Regions from separate parts of the Homo sapiens genome. Here regions 2 and 3 are each linked to region 1. The links are contacts of gene promoters, found by promoter capture Hi-C in blood cells and fetal thymus (Javierre and others, 2016). All regions are on one chromosome and are shown on one strand. The core of a region is centred on a gene start or on the middle of the fragment in contact, and the rest is flanking DNA. Distances in the headings are between cores, read along the strand shown.

Region 1 (3,624 bases), core at 156-2,655:
AGGACAAAGTACAAGGACTTATCAGAGAGGAGACAATGAAGCTCCATGCTCTGGAAAAAGGAAACAAGAGGCTGAGGGAATGAGATAGCTTCTAAGGAGGGAGCTTACAAAGGCCCCTCCTCCCCTGGCTCTTGCCCCGTGGGCCAGGCTAATTTGCATTTCAATGAGGACTTAATACTACTGAAGATTTTATGAAACGCCTAAGCTTCTCAAATGTTTGTTACTTTTGTTACCCTAGCTGAAATCTGCAATTACCAGTATTTTTAAAAAATCCTAAAATGAAGAGAAGAGGCCTGTGGGTGTTCAGTCAAGGAGGGAGGGGTCAAGTCTCAGTCCAGGAACTACTCTGTGCTGGGAGAAGCAGCCAGATACGGCACAGGTCGCGGTAGCCGAGAAAGAAAGCGAGAGAAAGGGTGAGCCGGGGAGTCGCTGGGCCAGACTGAAGTGTGCCTGTGTAGAATAACTGGCAGGAGAGCTGCATTTTCTGACCCCGGGAGGTAAAAGACGACGCCGTCCTTGGCACTGAGTGCGGTGACCACCAAGAGGAGCAAAAGTCATGAGTCTCCGACCCCCAGGCCCCCGGCTCAGCTGCCTCCACTCCACCCTACTCTTCTCAGCCCCAGCCCAGAAAGCAGGCAGCGAGGCAGGTCTTTGAACCGGACCAGGTTCCTTCCCCAAACACCCGGATCCAGAGAGGGGCAGGAATTCCCTAGTCATTTTCCCCTGCTCCTCCCCACATCATCCGCCCGAGGGGCGGCAGATCCAGCGGAAGCTGTCCGTGGTGCTGACTCCTGCCTTTGGCTTGGCCGGACCCGCTGCCCGCTGAGCGCGCTGCAGCCAAGCAGGGGGCTCGTGTGGCGGGGCCACGGGAGGGTGAGGGTCCTCAGGTCCGCGACCAGCTCCAGGCTCTGCTGTTAAATCCCAGCCCGAGCCCTCTAGCGTCTCTGCCCTCCGCAACCTGGCCGCTAGGCAGGATCCAGCCTTTAAGAACGGGTCAGTCGTGCCTCTCTCAAGCCCCCAGCTGCATTGCAATCTCCCACCGCTACTTCCTTCCCCGCTCCTTCCCTCCTAAGACTGCACCGGCTCCTCCCGATAGCCTGACGCTTCGCGCCTCTCCTCCGCCCTCCTCCACTGTGCGCTCCTCCGGACCCTGACCCTCCAGGGGCCGTGCAAGCTCCTGCAGTAGAGATTCGTCCTCTTCGCTGCTCTGGCCAGGTTTGCCGGCCCCTCCTCCCGTTTCGGATTCCATCCTCCCCACACTGTCCTCTTCACTAGTTCTCTAAGCACCGAGCATGGCAGAGCGCGCTCCACCCCTATTTTCCATACATGGGAGCTGGAGTGGGGGGCGGAGCTGAGGGGAGGCGCTCCCAGTCCCTCTAAGAAGCTGCTAGCCCACTGGGAAACATTTGGATCCGTTCAGCTCCCGCGGAGAAGCGAGACCGGATCACCGACGTGGGCAGAGGACTACCGAGGGCCAGCAGAAATTCTGCCCCTTCTTCCCGCGAGTGCTTTCCCGCTCTCCAAACCCCACTCCCAGGTAGGATCGCGCTCCTGAGTCTGCCTGCGTGGACTGCGAGGACCGTAAATAGAGGCGGAAGCGTTTAAATAAACCGTATGTTCTAACCGTGCTTAGGTTTATTTTACAGAGGTGAGAGGACAACACTTTTTGCTACTTTTGCTGTTGTTCTGTGGCCGGTTATTCCCAAGGGAGGACTCAGGCGATGGGGGAGGGGCGCGGCTGGTGTAGGAGGTCGGATGGAGTATGGCAAGGGAAGTGACGGACTTTGATTACCTTTGAACAGGTGGCCATGGCCTCATCGACCACTCGGGGCCCCAGGGTTTCTGACTTATTTTCTGGGCTGCCGCCGGCGGTCACAACTCCCGCCAACCAGAGCGCAGAGGCCTCGGCGGGCAACGGGTCGGTGGCTGGCGCGGACGCTCCAGCCGTCACGCCCTTCCAGAGCCTGCAGCTGGTGCATCAGCTGAAGGGGCTGATCGTGCTGCTCTACAGCGTCGTGGTGGTCGTGGGGCTGGTGGGCAACTGCCTGCTGGTGCTGGTGATCGCGCGGGTGCGCCGGCTGCACAACGTGACGAACTTCCTCATCGGCAACCTGGCCTTGTCCGACGTGCTCATGTGCACCGCCTGCGTGCCGCTCACGCTGGCCTATGCCTTCGAGCCACGCGGCTGGGTGTTCGGCGGCGGCCTGTGCCACCTGGTCTTCTTCCTGCAGCCGGTCACCGTCTATGTGTCGGTGTTCACGCTCACCACCATCGCAGTGGACCGCTACGTCGTGCTGGTGCACCCGCTGAGGCGGCGCATCTCGCTGCGCCTCAGCGCCTACGCTGTGCTGGCCATCTGGGCGCTGTCCGCGGTGCTGGCGCTGCCCGCCGCCGTGCACACCTATCACGTGGAGCTCAAGCCGCACGACGTGCGCCTCTGCGAGGAGTTCTGGGGCTCCCAGGAGCGCCAGCGCCAGCTCTACGCCTGGGGGCTGCTGCTGGTCACCTACCTGCTCCCTCTGCTGGTCATCCTCCTGTCTTACGTCCGGGTGTCAGTGAAGCTCCGCAACCGCGTGGTGCCGGGCTGCGTGACCCAGAGCCAGGCCGACTGGGACCGCGCTCGGCGCCGGCGCACCTTCTGCTTGCTGGTGGTGATCGTGGTGGTGTTCGCCGTCTGCTGGCTGCCGCTGCACGTCTTCAACCTGCTGCGGGACCTCGACCCCCACGCCATCGACCCTTACGCCTTTGGGCTGGTGCAGCTGCTCTGCCACTGGCTCGCCATGAGTTCGGCCTGCTACAACCCCTTCATCTACGCCTGGCTGCACGACAGCTTCCGCGAGGAGCTGCGCAAACTGTTGGTCGCTTGGCCCCGCAAGATAGCCCCCCATGGCCAGAATATGACCGTCAGCGTGGTCATCTGATGCCACTTAGCCAGGCCTTGGTCAAGGAGCTCCACTTCAACTGGCCTCCTAGGGCACCACTCGAGGTCAATCTGGTGCTTATTCTCAGCACCAGAGCTAGCTAAGCCAACATAGGGCAACATTTCCAGCCCAGCCCTCTTGTCCGGCTGTCTGTCTTGTCCTTGTGTGTTTGTAAAATGTTAAGCGGGCTTTGGTGAGAGTCTTGCTCTTTGCTTGGGGGAGGCCAAAGAGAGGGAAGAGGATTTCTTATTTCTTCTTTATGCCCTTGAAGGACAAACAAAACTTTTTCTCCACGTTCAGAAAAGTATTTCAGAACCACGATTGCCTTCCTGGCGTCCCCTCCTCCTGCTCGTTGGTGAAATGAACAATATGAATGGGATTTAAAAGGAATGCATTGGGCTTGGTAAAGATTTTCAGTTTGCCTTTAGAAAAAGGACCCAGCTGAGAGTACCATGATATTGCTTAGTCCATTTGAACCCTTGCATTCCTAGAATTTCAGGTAAATATGTATTAAAACTCTACATCTAGGATTTCAGCATTTCCTGAGTAAGACCTTTATATGCCAAAAGGGTTTCGTTTTAAAACCACTTGAGTTTATAGTACAAAAACACCTACAAGCTCCCTTTAGAAAGGTCTTGCTATTGTTTCTCCCCTTTCCTCCCCAACTACTATTTAAAAATGATGAGACGAATTAGTCAATGAA
Region 2 (3,836 bases), core at 984-3,483, 140 kb before region 1:
ATTGTACACTTAGGTTTTACTAAATTTATTTAAAAATTGCTTCTGGCCAGATGCTGTGGCTCACGTGTGTAATCCCAGCACTTCGGGAGGCCAAGACAGGCAGATCACTTGAGCCCAGGAGTTTTAAGACCAGCCTGGGGAACATGGCAAAACCTCATCTGTAGTCCCAGCTACTCTGGAGGTTGAGTTGGGAGGATCACTTGAGCCCCAGAGGGAGAGGTTGCAGTGAGCTGAGATTGCACCACTGTACTCCAGCCTGGGTGACAGAGTGAGAGACCCTGTCTCAAAAAAAAAAAATTATAAATAATAAATCAACCTTAGCTTCCTGTAACTTTTTTACTTTATAAACTTTTTAAGTTTTAAAAAACTTTTCGGCTTCTCTGTAATAACTCTTAGCTTAAAACATAAACACAGTACAACTATACAAAAATATTTTCTTATCCTGATAAAATTTTTTCTGTTTAAAAAAATTTCTGTATGGCTTTTACTTCTTATACTTTCTATGACCATTCCTCTTCTTTATCTACAAGGGCTTCCCTTCCATTCCTCAGGTTATGTTCTTGGCCTTCAGCTGCTCTGAGTCCAACACTTGGAAGAGTTCAGTCGTCCCCCTGTGCTGGAGGGAGCAGAACATTTTGCTGGAACATTCAGGCAGATTTATTAGATTGTTATTCACAGATGAGCATACTCTAGTGACAAAAAGTCATCATTTTTCTTTTAGATAGCATACATTAACTAGCTCGAGTTAAACAGGTAACAAAGGGCTCTTTTCTCCTTGTCTGTTCTGATTATCTAGTTGCAATTAATTAAAAAGTCATTCATAATTTAGCCTTTTAAATTTGGCTTAATTATTTATTTTATAATTGCCATTACTACATTCTTAAAGAGTCTATTCTAAATGAAGGTGGCTTTTTTGGTGGGAAGAAGGGATATGGAAGAGAAGAATTTTAGTGAATCTTTGGTAGGAAGACAGTTCCTAGCTACCTTTTTAACATTTTGTTTGATATATTCACACCTTTATTTGACTCTCCAAGGTGTTGAGAACAGACAAGCCATATATTAGCAATTGAGGAAAGAGGAACACCTAAGTGAACCCTGGCTGTCCAGGGCTGCTGAAGCATTAGAGTGGTTTTCAAACTTTAACAGGCGTAAGAATTATCTGGAGGGCTTGTTAAACAGCTTCCTGGGTTCCACCCACCCCTAGAATTTCTGATTCAGCAGGTCTGTGTTGGGGCCTGACAGTTTGCATTTGCAACAAGTTTCCAGGTGATGCTGCTGCTGCTGCTCTGGATCTCACACTTTTGAGGCACTGATAGAAAGTAATGATCAGTCTCTGCAGTAGACCAAGTATGAATTCATAATGCTTACTATAATTCCTGAATTTATTCTTCCCTTATAAACAAAAAAACCCTTAAAAGGATTATATAGTAGGGCTAACCTGGTTTGCTTTAGCCTATGTGAAATCAAATGTAATTTAAGCTTTAATTGCAAAACAGCTAATAAGTAGTATATCTTTCACTGTTTTTCTGTTCAGCATTTATTTTGACTCACGAAGTTAATTCGCTTTACAGATGTTACTGGGTACCTACCATGTGTCATATACTGTTTAGAGTTGGGGCTCTAGCAGTGAATTCCTTCTCCATGGGGCTTAACGTCTAGTTTGAGGGAGATTGACAATAAACAAATAATATGTCAAGTTATTTGGATTAAAAAAGTGTGAGAGTTGAACATATTTATTCTTGCCTGGTATGAATTATAGACCTCTAATGGTTTCCTGTTTATCAGCAACCTGATAATATTTCCTGAATGAAGATTCCAGCTATTCCATGTGTTTCAGACTTTGTTTCATTTTATCTTAGTAAAGGTCAGTTAAACTACTTTCTCAGTGGGATTTAGACTGTGTGAGCTTATTATCTTAAAAATATGTGTTTCTAGGTTTAAGCCTTGCGGCATGATGTTTTTACATTTTTTTAGTAAGTGTTTTAAAATTTCTTGAACCTCTGTGCCTCTAGAGGGCAACACACATTCTGCTGTTCAATAAAGCCCTCACCACTTTTCTTATTCTTGCACCAGGCCTGCTTTACTTATGTATGTTATTAGCGTGGCTCCTGTAGGTATTTGTGCCTGTAGTGCCTTCTTTAAATAGCATAAAAAGTAGTTCATTATTTTCAAGCTGAAAATCTAACCTAGATGAAGTTTAGTAATTTAATGGTAACTTACTTTTGTTTAGGTTTCATACTTTAATTTTGGCTCTTACTTGCTGATATTGCTCATTACATACAGAAAAGGAATTTAGTTAATTATCTAAAAAGTAAAATTCAAGGAATTCTTTACCTCATTGGAAGTCTGTATATACTCTTTAGCCACGTATAATATACATTGAAAAGACTGGCACAGTACACTGGCACAGCCGCAATATACTGGTGGTGAAATTATGAGTGATTTTTATTTCCTCCTTTTGCTTATGTATTTTCTAATGCAGGCTTCATACTGAACTGTAGAAATCAAGAAATAAAAAGTTGAAAAGTATTGTCTAAATAGGCAGCCTTGCAGATCTCCTAAGATCCTGTCATGCTGCTCTGATCTTAGCATTCTCATTTTAAAGTAGTAAATCAGCTATCTTCTACACATAGCATGAATTTTGGCTACTCTTTTGTGTTTTGTTTTGTTTTTGAGACAGTCTTGCTTTGTTGTCCAGACTGGAGTACAGGGTTATGAACATGGCTCACTGCAACCTTGACCTTTGGGCTTGAAAGATCCTCCTGCCTCAGCCTCCCGAGTAGCTGAGACCACAGGTGTGCATCACCACGCTCGGCTAATTTTTTTTTTTAAGTTTTTGTAGAGGTAAGGTCTTACCATGTTTCCCAGTGTAGTCTTGAACTTCTGGGCTCAGGCGGTGCTCTCGCCTCGGTCTCCCAAAGTGCTGGGATTACAGGCATGAGCCAGTGCGCCTGGCCTACTTTTTCTTTTGGTGAGTGTAAGCTTTTCTATGGGCAAAGTTGAAAGTGATTACATATCTCTTAACAAGAGGATCTAGTTTTTAAGTTCAAGATTACACACACACTCTGAGGCTATATGTGTCAGATGTTAAACTGAACAAATAGCTAGGAGTTTTTGTTTTTTAAACCAAGGATTGCGTTGAGATAAGCAAGTAAATAACAAATATCTTGAAGTTTCCTGGATTGTCATTTTAAGTGTTGACTGCAGATGGTTATGAAGAACCTTCCTGGGAAGAAAGTTATGTTAGCTAGCATATAAGGTTACTGAATTGGCTTTCTATTTACTATTCAGGTAACATAGATGTATATTGTATATAATAAATAATACGTGTGGAAATAGAAACTGCTTTTTTTTTTGTGTGTGGAAATAGGGTTTAAGATTCTCTACTGTGACACATGCCTTTTTCAATTTGGTTTTTAAGTCTCTTTTCAAAGATATTTAAAAGCATCAGCAGTCACTGTTTCTGTAGTGAGTCCCCATTCTGTACTTAGAACTGCAGGACTTTACATTTTGGTTTCTTTTTCCTCTTCTTCATATCTTTGACTTGGTGATTTGCTAAAGTGCGAAGCCTGTGCTTGAGAAGTAGGAGTGCTCCCAGCTGGAGCCATAGCATGTGGTTTATTGAACTAAGCATTTTAGGAGCCCAGAAGATAGGTATGTTAATTACTGGTGTTACTACTTGCAGTTTTCTTTTTGAGCGTGTTATCTAACCTTCAACTCTCAACTTTCGGTGTAGAGAGGTATTTCATGTGGTTTAGGTGGTACACTGATAAGGGATTCTGTAACTCAGAATCACACAGTGAGAATGTAATTTCTTTTTCAGTTTTCTTTGAATC
Region 3 (3,831 bases), core at 168-2,667, 240 kb before region 1:
CCTTCCCTGCCCCGGATCTGTAAGTAAAAATATTTGAACTGACTTCCTGTCATGGTCGTGTATCGAACTTGCGCCTTCCATCTGAAGAACTGGGGGCTACCCCACTGGGTTTTCCCTGGGACATGGGAGTGGTGAGAAACACAAGGTTGGGCTTCCAGGAGGGCCAGAGTGACGGTCAGGTAGACACAAACTGGACACAGGTCAGACAAGACACAAGATCGTCTACCAGCATAAACACATTTCCTATGCCAGGCACCCTCCATTTGAAGGTTGGATAACCAGACATTAGGCCATCCGACAAGTAGAAGGATCGTGTGAAAGGCGTCCTGTAAACAACATGTTCACCTCCTCTTCATTTCTCATTAGGGCAGGGTTGCCAGCTGTGCTGGTACTGGAACCCCAATTTAGCTGAAGGCTCTCAGAACACCCCTCAATCCTGGGCAGATGGGATGGTTGGTCACCCCAGCTGGGCCTGACCCAGGGACTGAGCCTCTGCTCGCTGGCACAGGGTGGATCAGCTGGTTGTGATGGACAGGCAGGAGGCATGGCAAATTAGGGAAGTGACCTGTAAAGACTCCTTTCCTCCTGGCCATGACCTCTGCCCCACCCCCAGAGCCCCTCTTCTCCCAGGTCCCCCCTGAGTCCACACGGAACCTAATCTAAGCCTGCATTTGGAAATGGTCCAGTTTTCTCTCTCCCCTGCCCTCCTAAGTCTGAGTCACCATCACTTCTCACCTGGAGGGACTTCCAAACTCGTCCACCCATTTCCACTCTGTCCTTGTCCAATCTACTCTCCACACTGTCTACACAATCAACAAACCAATTGCCTCAAAATGCCAGTGTAATTATGTAGTCTATGCTTAAGGATTTTAGTGGCTAACCCGGTCCTCTTAGGATACAGACCTACCTCCTCACCTGGTGGGAGGGCCTGGCCCCATCCCTTCCTCCTCCCCAGGCTTCGTGCTATCCACCCCTACCCCTTGCTCACCCTGCTGATCTCCTTCCAGCTTTGGGGGCTGTTATGCACTGAACGTTTGTCCCCCTCAGATTCATACATTGAGACTCAATCCCCAATGTGATGGTATTTGGAGAAGGAGCCTTTGGGTGGTAATCAGGTGATGAGGGTAGATAGATCCCTTATGGGTGGGATTAGTATTAGTGGCTTTATAAGAAAAAACCAGAGAGCTAGCTCACCCTCTTTTCACCGTGGGAGAATGAAAAGTTGGAATTCTATAACCAAGAAGAGGGCGCTCACCAAAACCCAACTATGCTGGCATCCTGATCTCCAACTTCCAGCTTCCAGAACTGTGAGAAATAAATTTGTTGTTTATAAGCTTCCGAGTCTATGGTAATTTGTTATAGCAGCCTGAGTTGACTAAGAAAGGGACCTTCACACACATAACTCTGGTGCTTGGTCAGCTCTTCCTGCAAGGTTCGCCTGGTCAATTCCGTTCCTCTTTCAAGCCTCAGCATCAATATCATTTCCTCAAGGAAGCTTTGCTCAGCCTCCCTGATTGTACTGGTTTTACTGGTACTTATTCACAGCACGTAACACAAATGTAATTCTTACTTGTGTTTGTATGTGTGTGTCATTACTTGTCTTCCCTACAAGGCTAACTCCATGAAGGCAGGGATCACACTTCTTCCTGTATATCCCCTAAAGCAGGGATCAACAAACCTTTTTTGTAAAGGATCAGATAGGAAATATTTTAGGCTTTATAGGCCACATGGTCTCTGTTGAAACAACTCAACTCTGCTGTTGTAGCACCATAGCTATGGAGAACATGTAAATTGGCCAGGCACAGTGGCTCACGCCTGTAATCCCAGCACTTTGGGAGGCTGAGGCAGGCACATTACTTGAGGTCAGGAGTTCAAGACCAGCCTGGTCAACATGGTAAAACCCCATCTCTACTAAAAATACAAAAATTAGCCAGGCGTTGTGGCGGGTGCCTGTAATCCCAGCTACTCGGGAGGCTGAGGCATGAGAATCGCTTGAACCTAGGAGGCAGAGGTTGCAGTGAGCTGAGATCATGCCACTGTACTTCAGCCTGGGCAACAGAGTGAGACGCCATCTCAAAAAAAAAAAAAAAAAAAAAAGAACATGTAAAGCAATGTAACCAATACGGTTTGGATCTGTGTCCCTGCTCAAATCTCATGTCAAATTGTAATTTCCAGTGTTGGAGGTGGAGCCTGGTGGGAGATGATTGGATCATGGGGTTGGATTTCCCCTTTGGTACCATTCTCATGATAGTGAGTTATCATGAGATCTGGTTGTTTAAAAGTGTGTAGCACCTCCCCCTTCTCTCTTTCTTCCTCCTGCTCCAGCCATGTAGGTTGTGCCTGCTTCCCCTTCATCTTCTGCCATGATTGTAAGTTTCCTGAGGCCTCCCAGCCATACTTCCTGTATTGCCTGCACAACCGTGAGCACATTAAACCTCTTTTGTTTATAAATTACCCAGTCGCAGGTATTTCTTTATAGCAATGCAAGAATGGACTAACACAGTGATTGCGTTCCAATAAAACTTTACAAAAACAGGTGGCGAGTTGGATTTGGCCCATAAGCTGTAGTTTGTCAACTCCTACCTTGGAGCAGTTTTTCAGCATCACCTGGAAACTTAAGTTCTTGGGCCCTGCCCTATATCTGCTGAATCAAACAAATATTTTCCTGTTCATAGCCTTTACTTTCTTCTGGGATTCCAATTATATGTGTATTATTGCTATAGGTTGCTTGAAGTTGTTCCAGAGATCACTGATGCTCTTAAAGTTTTTAAAATCCCTTTTTAAAAAACCTATTTCATTTTGGATAATTTCTATTGCTGTGTTTTCAAATTCATTAATCTTCTGCAATGTCTAATCTACTAATCACATCCAGTGTTGCTTTTGTTCTGAGATGTTGTAGTTTTAATCTCTAGAAGTTTAATTTTGGTCATTTAAAAAATATATTCCATATGTAACTTTTTGAACATATGGAATACAATTATAATTGTTTTAATGTCCTTGTGTGCTATTTCTGACATCTGTGTCATTTCTGGGTTTTGATTGCTTGATTTTTCTCATTAGGGTTCTATTTTTCCTCTTCTTTGCATGCCTTGTAATTTTTGATTGGATGTCAGATGGTGTGAACTTTACCTTGTTGGGTGTTGGATATCTTCAAATTCTTGACCTTTACAGTTTGACCCCTTTGGGTTTTGCTTTTACGATTTGGTAGGCAGGGCTCAGGCTGGCATTAATTATTCCCCACTACTGAGGCCAGACTTTTCTGAATAGTCAATGCCCATGAATTATGAAGTTTTCCAGTCGGGCTGGTGGGAATAGGCACTATTTCTGGCTCTGCTTTGAGAAATTCTCTCTGTGGCCTTGGGTAGTTTCTTCCCAGGCATATACTGCAGCCCTGACTACTCCATCTTGGTCAAACACATGTCCGTAAGCAAACGTTTTGATCTTTAATATTCTGATTGGACAGAAGAAGTAATTCAGATCTTACAAATTTTAGCACATTCGATTCCTCAAAAACTCCAATGAAGTAGTTATTTTCATTAAAATAGCTGAGAAAAATAAGGCTCAGACAAGTGACGTGACTGCTTGTTAGACTCCCAAGCTCACCTATTTCACCACTTGATGTTGTTCTCTTTACACGTCTGCCAGCCCCTGCTGGAATGTCTCCTCTTCAGACCAAAGCACCCCTGGGAATGTAGTAGGTTAAGTTAGATCCTCCTCACTACTCAGAGTGAGGTCTGGGGGCCAGGATCATTGGCATCGTAGGAGCTTGTTAGAGATGCAGAGGCCCAGCCGTGCTGAATTAGAGGCTGCATGGTAGCAGATCCCTGGTGA

Evidence for each region. Contacts are between HindIII fragments. The CHiCAGO score rates a contact against its expected background, and 5 or more counts as called.
Region 2: a contact is called between a fragment that was not itself captured here and the fragment with the promoter of PRLHR in region 1, in 1 of 17 cell types (naive CD4 T cells). The highest score is 5.4, in naive CD4 T cells.
Region 3: a contact is called between a fragment that was not itself captured here and the fragment with the promoter of PRLHR in region 1, in 1 of 17 cell types (M1 macrophages). The highest score is 5.2, in M1 macrophages.

The regions. Positions count from the first base shown.
Region 1 is chr10:118,593,429-118,597,052 of GRCh38, reverse strand. PRLHR (prolactin releasing hormone receptor) reads left to right here and starts at 1,405. Exons shown (of 2, transcript NM_004248.3): 1 at 1,405-1,537; 2 at 1,803-3,624. The coding sequence starts at 1,809. The coding sequence ends at 2,921. RefSeq lists enhancers at 20-828, 829-1,637, 1,638-2,446. The HindIII fragment of the contact is 5,195 bases long and covers 208-3,624 here.
Region 2 is chr10:118,732,851-118,736,686 of GRCh38, reverse strand. All of the region lies in intron 1 of CACUL1 (CDK2 associated cullin domain 1), which reads left to right. Among named protein-coding and RNA genes, the nearest start is that of CACUL1, 20 kb to the left of the region's middle. The HindIII fragment of the contact is 1,503 bases long and covers 1,482-2,984 here.
Region 3 is chr10:118,836,231-118,840,061 of GRCh38, reverse strand. All of the region lies in intron 3 of LINC03036 (long intergenic non-protein coding RNA 3036), which reads left to right. Among named protein-coding and RNA genes, the nearest start is that of CACUL1, 83 kb to the right of the region's middle. The HindIII fragment of the contact is 161 bases long and covers 1,337-1,497 here.